2 separate regions of the Homo sapiens genome follow, and region 1 is linked to region 2. The links are contacts of gene promoters, found by promoter capture Hi-C in human tissues and cell types (Jung and others, 2019). All regions are on one chromosome and are shown on one strand. Each heading gives the region's core, a stretch centred on a gene start or on the middle of the fragment in contact. The rest is flanking DNA. Distances are from core to core; before and after follow the strand shown. Region 1 overlaps MAPRE2 (microtubule associated protein RP/EB family member 2). Region 2 holds the start of ZSCAN30 (zinc finger and SCAN domain containing 30).

Region 1 (3,632 bases), core at 3-2,502, 210 kb after region 2:
ATTACCCTTCTACTTTAATGGACAAAAAGGTGCTTTATTTTTTAAAGGATTGATTAAATATGTAAGGTCAAATTTAAGGTAAGACTTAAATTTAAGGTAAGACTTAAGAAGAGCTTGAGTAGAAGGTAAGAATCTGAAAAGATATGAGATCTTATCTAATTTTTGTAGTCATAGGTCACCTCTAAAGAAATGCCCATCTGTAGGTGGCATGGAGAGATGTCACTTTGTTTATTTAGCAATGTTAAACAAACCAGCAAATACTTATTGAGGAATATGACCTTAGTCTTAATAAGAACCAAGTAACTTAGTCTTGAGAGTCTGGAGAAATACACATGGAAAAACAGCAAAAATACAAAACAACTATAAGTGCTAAACTGTATGGCCTAGATACATAAATATTAGTAATATTTATAAATATAGATACATAAATATTAGTTCCATACAGTTAGTTCAAAGTCTGCCCAATAAAAAAACAACAAAGAGTAATCAGTATTATCAAACACATAAAATCAAGCCAAACTTGCATGATCATTTCAGTCCCCAAGGAGCTTAACTCCGAATGCTGAAGACTTAAAACAAGTACTCAATGAGCGTAAGGCTTTGTAAAGGTCTGATCATTGAAAAGAGAGAGAGAGCTCACATTTTGTTGAATGTGATCAGGAAGAATAGGGCAAAGTGGCATTTGATATGAATTTCAAAGGAGATACTCCAAGCAAAGACAAGGAATCAGGGCATATAAGTGAAACGTGCGTTTGAGGAAATACAGGTTATGGGTAGGGAGGCTGTGGGGATAAATGTTGGAAAGGTGGAATGCAGCTAGATTGCTCAAGGCTTTAAATGCCAGGAAAAGAAGAAGCTTAACTAATTTGGTAGGCAAACCAATGCTGATTTCTGGGCACAAACGTCTTTAGAGAATGCCATTTTTAAGTTCTAATTTTCAGAACGTATGTATTTTTTTTTTTTTTTTTTTTTTTGAGACGGAGTCTCGCTCTGTCGCCCAGGCTGGAGTGCAGTGGCGCAATCTCGGCTCACTGCAAGCTCCGCCTCCCGGGTTCACGCCATTCTCCTGCCTCAGCCTCCCAAGTAGCTGGGACTACAGGCGCCCGCCACTACGCCCGGCTAATTTTTTGTATTTTTAGTAGAGACGGGGTTTCACCGTTTTAGCCGGGATGGTCTCGATCTCCTGACCTCGTGATCCGCCCGCCTCGGCCTCCCAAAGTGCTGGGATTACAGGCGTGAGCCACCGCGCCCGGCCCAGAACGTATGTATTTTTAGGTCAAATTAAATTGCAAGTAAGAAACCTAAAGCTGATCCCTTTCCCCATTTTCTCAGAGAATTTCTACTGAACCATTACCCACATCATACTATCAACAGTTATACAGGCCAGGCCACTACATGAACTCTATGTATGGCAGCCCACAGAGAGGCTTTTAGTATAAGGTAAAATATACTGGTATGAGTGGACCAGCGCAAACCCACGGTCCACGTCTACACAATGCGCCCCTTTCTCAAGTTGCTCATTTTGAGGCTGAGGTCACTATCCCTGGCACTAGAGACTAGAAGCTCCAGGATTCTTCCCCAGATTTCAGCCATTTCACCCTCTCCCCAAGACTTGCAGGTGAGAACTCCATACTTATGGCCACTCTCCCCAGTCCAGTCCTCTAGCTTTCATCTACACCAATAACATCCCCTATTACCACTTTCCAGAGGAGGATGCTCCTTCCCCGGCAGCTCCCTGAAAAGAGTCCCGTCCAGAGAAAGCCCAGAAGGCCAGGTGTGGCACCAAAGGAAGCCTCCAGCAATTACAGACAGAGAGGAACTCACATTCAGGCACCACATAACATTCGTGCAGACTGTGATACTAACAGAATATTGTTCTTTATGAGTTGCTTTCTTTATATTTCCCAGGTTAATCCCAAAATATACTTTGCTTTCTAGGTACACTCTAGTATCAGAAGGATCCCAAATCAGTTTGAAGAATGCACAGTATTTACTTCAGGGATTCAATCATATGACCACAGTAGAAATAAAAGAATGGAATAATTTTTGGAAAAAAAAAGAAGCAGGAAAAGATTTCTGTGAGGTTTTTAAATAGTAGATTTTAACACAATTCTGCGCAATTTTAAAGTTGATGTACATCTTTTCATTAAAATTTGGCTCCTTCTACACTTTTGTAAAGTTCTTCCATGAGCTGTCATACAAATGTAATCTAGAAGAAATGAAAATGGAGAACGATCCTCCTCATGCAGAATGCGAAGAGAAACTGCAGGAAACAGGACTCGCATTAGTTTCACATTTATATGCTTCTCATGTCAAATAATTTGGTCATAAAAAGCTTATGAGTATTAATATTTGGGTAAGAACACACCCTTGGGAGGGAGGGGACAAACACAGGTAATTTGCTATTTGTCAGAATTACGTAATGGTTTCAGGGTGGGAAAAAAAAAAACGCAATCTGAAAAATGATGGTGTCTTTACGAGTTGCCAAGCAATTTCATTATTCTGTTTCCAGGTATGCAATTCTAACATGCCCAAACATTTGACAGTGATTTCTGACACTCCTTTTTAATAGTGTCTACATGTCTGATAAACTAGAAATTTAAAAACACAATTCAGAAAAAAATTGGTTAGGAAAAATGTTTTCTTTTGAAGAGCAGAAGAATTTGGAGATGTTTGGCTTGATTATCTTAACTGTGTAGAAACCAGATGCCTGCTAATATTTCAGATGTTTCCATGTACAGACTGCCCATTAGTGCCCTACACTGAATGATGGCAAGACAGGCTGGACGTGTACCTTTCTCCAGGGGCCTTTCTCTGCCTTTGCTTCATACTCAGGTAAGCTGAGAAAAAGGAATTTGCTCTCTCTGAATAGACCTGTCAGGGAGAACTTTGGTAGTAAAGGGATAGGTCCTAACTGGATATGATCTGTGTTGTGTTTTGTATAGTGGTGTATCCTCCAATCCTAATCCACCACCTGACACATTGCAGGTACTCAATAAATATCTGCTGACTGCAGGAATAAATAAAGCAATGTGTAGAATATCAAAATGATATCTAAATGGTAACTTTCCTCAAAATCACCATCTTCTTCTCCGTCTGAATCCTATCCATATTAAAATCCTAGTTTGAATAGCATTTCAATTCAATTCAACTTCATAAATATTTATTGACCATCCACTAAATTTGAATGACTGTTTGGCCAAAGACCCAAACAAGGGTAAGACAAAAAGCTTTTCTAGATGGAAATAATCTTTCCTTTCTTTGAATACAGCACTTATTACTTGAAGTATTACTGTCCCTCTTTCGCTGCCTTGAATTTTAATGTTACAGATGTCTTACACATGCAATGTACATGCACAAAACACTGCAACTTCTTTTTGCCTTGATCAAACTTTTTGTCTAAAATGTCCTTTCGTCCTCTTTTATACTTGAATAACTTCTCATTCTTAAAAGCTTAGTCAAAACATCACCTCCTCTACGAAGCTTTCCTGTTTCCAACACAAAATTGTTTCACTATACTGGATACAGAAATCTAACAGGGATTTGACTTACATTTTAATTAGTTCTCTCTCCTGGCTGACTGGTGAGTAAATCTTTAAGACTGGGGATGATGTTCAATTCATCTTTCTACT
Region 2 (3,452 bases), core at 412-2,911:
TGATTGAAACCATCTTAGACCCTGGCCCCAGTAGAGTCAGCCTTGAGATGACTGCAAAATGACCCCAGAAAAGACCAAGAGAAAAAAAAATGCCCAGGTGAACCCAGCTCAAGTTGATGACCTACAGAATCATAAGAAATAATGTGGTTTAAGAAGTCTGATGTTTTAGGTCACTAAATTTTGGGGTTCTTTATTCTGGAGTAATACATAGATACAAATCTCAAAATAACTTCAAGGTATGAAGTACTATGCACTTGAAAAGTGAGGAAACAGAATCGTAAAATATATGAGTAACTTACTGGAGCCAGTTAAGTGACAAAACTACTGTTTGAATCTAGGTTGTCAGACTCCAGAACTTTTAACTATGCCCCTACAGTAGATAAGAAAAATGACCAAAACTGACAGATTAGCAATGAGGTCATTATACAGGGAAAAATGAATGACTTTGGGGTCTTAAAAAAGTGGAGAGAGCTGCATGAGAATTTGATCGCCAGATTTTGAAATAAAGTCATGTGACTATGCTTGGTACACTAAAGAGGTAATACTGCCTAACAGAGTTAAGGGGGATCATTTGAAGACACTAGCATAGAGTGACACCCCCTCATCCTCCCCACCCCGCCAAAGCCACTAAGAAAGATATAATACCCTGCCTCTCACCTGACAGAAGGTGGTGTTCCTGAGATTCATAATTGAACTGGATCTCCATGGGCTGCAACTGGACACCTCAGTGTGCAAGTGGAGAATTACCATTTCCTCTGTAAGCTTTTCTTGTCCACATAAAGGTCTGGGACCTGGAGGCAACTGGGCACCACTGGGCTTGGAAGGGAATCATTGTGCTGACTACAGATGTAATCTCTGAGACTAGACCACCAGAAAAATCCTCAAGATATAAAAGAAGGAGAAAACAAAAAATCTCATTTGACTTCCAGTTGCTTTTCTCTCAGAATGTATTAGGCTTCCTCCCCATCATCCAAGAGCCAGGGATTAACCCACTTAAGACACACATTCCCCATTCCAAGTCTAGAGATGTTCAAACAAAATTAGGGGTTAATGCTACCAAAAAAAGGTATAACTGGAAAGATAACGCAGAGAGGGGAATTTTACAGTGAATTCTAGTGGTTAACACTATGTTATTCGCTGCCCTTCCTATCCAAAAATGACACTACTGATCATTTTTCTTCCTTTTGCTTTTACAACATTCACAAATTCAGGTGGCTCTTTCCCAGTACGGTAGGCTGATTCGTATGGATGCACCACGGTTGGTGACTCCCCCCACCCCACAGAGTTTCTGGCGTTCATTCGGTTGAACCCAAGGCCAGCAAGGGCTGACTGGGAACAAACCGAACACTAGGCCGTGAACCAATCGTCTCTCCGTGCCCGGGAGCGACCCCGGGGGCCTTCACTCTCCAAGGACTCGAGAAACCATGCACAGTTTCCTGCTCGTTAGGCAAGATCACCCGGAACTCCTCTGCTATCCGCGAGCCGACATCACCCTTACCTCGACTTGGTCACCGGACCGCTGTGAAGCCTCACACCCGGCGAACCTGCCATCGCCCTGTCCGCTCTAGGAATCTGGGAGGAGTGCTCAGCTCTATGGCGCTTCACCGCGCAGGCGCAGGGCGGGGGTGGGGCACCGGGTGACGGAGGGCTGCCGAGAATTAACCCCCGAACCGCCGCGAGCTGTCCCTAGCAGTGCCTTAGCCAGGGACCTGCTTGGCCAGCGACAGATCCTTTGCTGCTCTGTCTGCCGGTTCTTGAGGTGAATGTCGGAATCCATTATCTTTCGGGAAAGCTCTCTGGGGCAGGGTAGGTTTTCTTACTACATACAAGTTCTTAATTAGTTATCGTTTTTTAAATAACCACCCCTCCCCCTATCGCTTATCTGATTCGTAGGTATGCTTTAATTCTAACTTTCTTCCTGTCCTCTCTGGTTTTTCACACCCCCAGAAGAGTAGCGCGCATCAGAATCACCTGGAGGCCTTGTTAAAATACTGACTTCTGCCCCACAACTCCGGAGTTGCTGATTTAGTAGTGGGGGAGGGGGCGGTGGCAGCCCAGGTTCTCAGGTGATCCTGAAGCTGTTGGTCCTGGGACCACATTTTGAGAACCACTGCCCAAGAAATAAGTGATGCTCAGTAATTAATCCCTGAATTAACGGAAAGTTGGATTTTTATCTACTTTGCAATCTAGAAAGGGTACGAGGTCTATTTAAGGTTTGCTTGCTAGAACAATTCTCACTGATCAGGGTGAGAAGGACCCGAAATGGAGGGTGCGGGGTAATCAGGGTAGGAAAGGATATTGCTGTGTTCATGGAAATATCTTGGGAAATGAGGAGTTGGGACCTCATTTCTGTTGAGACCAATGAGACGTGTGACTTGGTTTAAGCTGTCCGGTGGGGAAAGGAAGAGGTTTGAGAAAATGGTGGGTGGCTAAGTGGTAGTTGAGGTGGAGGAAGAGGGCTTCCTGTCCCAGCCCAAGTCCCTGTTGGGATATATGAAATTTAGGGATGTATGACTAAGCCCTTAATATAACCGTAAGAGGAAAGAGATGTGGGAACTTGAGTCCAACCCTCCCAAGTAGGGAGTGCAGATAGTTTTAAAAAAACAGCTTTCTTTTTGGCCAGGCGCAGCTTAGGCCTGTAATCCTAAAACTTTGGGAGGTTGAGGCAGGTGGATCACCTGAGATCAGGAGTTGGAGACCAGCCTGGCCAACAAGGTGAAACCCTGTCTCTACTACAAATACAAAAATTAGCTGGGCATGGTGGTGTGCGCCTTTAATCCCAGCTACTTGGGAGGCCGAGTCAGGAGAATCGCGTGAACCCATGAACCCAGGAGGCGGAGGTTGCAGTGAGCCGAGATTGCGCCACTGCACTCCAGCCTGGGTGACAAAGCGAGACTTTGTCTCAAAACAAAACAAAACAAAACAAAACAAAACAGCTTTATTGAGGTATAACTGACATAAACAGCAAATATTTAAAGGATATAATTTGATAAGGCTTGTTAAATGAATACAGCTGTGGAACTATCACTGCAATCAAAATAATATGTTTATTACATCTAAACCCCAAAAGTTTCCTCCTGCCCGTTGGTAAGCCTCTCTCCCAATGCCCCCTCCACTGGTCAGCTGTTACTAGAGATTAGTTTGCATTTTCTAGATATTTATTTAAATGGAATCATACAGAATGTCCTTGTTTTTGTCAGAGTTGTTTCACTAAGCTTTTATTTTGAGATTTATCTTTATTGCTGTGTGTATCAATAGTTAATTTTTGTTGCTGAATAATATTCCATTGTATGTATATACCACAGTTTGTTTATCCAATCACCAGTTCATGGGCATTTGGGTTATTCCAGGTTTTTACTGTTACAAGTAAAGCTGAGAACATTCATGTACACACGTCTTTATATGGACATATGCTTTTTTCCCCCTCTCTCATGGTAGATGTACATTTAATG

Evidence for each region. Contacts are between HindIII fragments. The study calls those that stand out against the background at their distance.
Region 1: a fragment that was not itself captured here is called in contact with the fragment with the promoter of ZSCAN30 in region 2 in 1 of the 25 tissues and cell types used here (dorsolateral prefrontal cortex).

Annotation. Positions count from the first base shown.
Region 1 is chr18:35,079,632-35,083,263 of GRCh38, reverse strand. The region is part of intron 2 of MAPRE2 (microtubule associated protein RP/EB family member 2); the gene reads right to left. Among named protein-coding and RNA genes, the nearest start is that of MAPRE2, 40 kb to the right of the region's middle. The HindIII fragment of the contact is 4,180 bases long and covers 1-3,342 here.
Region 2 is chr18:35,288,438-35,291,889 of GRCh38, reverse strand. It overlaps ZSCAN30 (zinc finger and SCAN domain containing 30), which reads left to right and starts at 1,661. Exons shown (of 4, transcript NM_001112734.4): 1 at 1,661-1,806. It also overlaps the pseudogene ZNF271P. RefSeq lists an enhancer at 1,385-1,544. The HindIII fragment of the contact is 7,442 bases long and covers 1-3,452 here.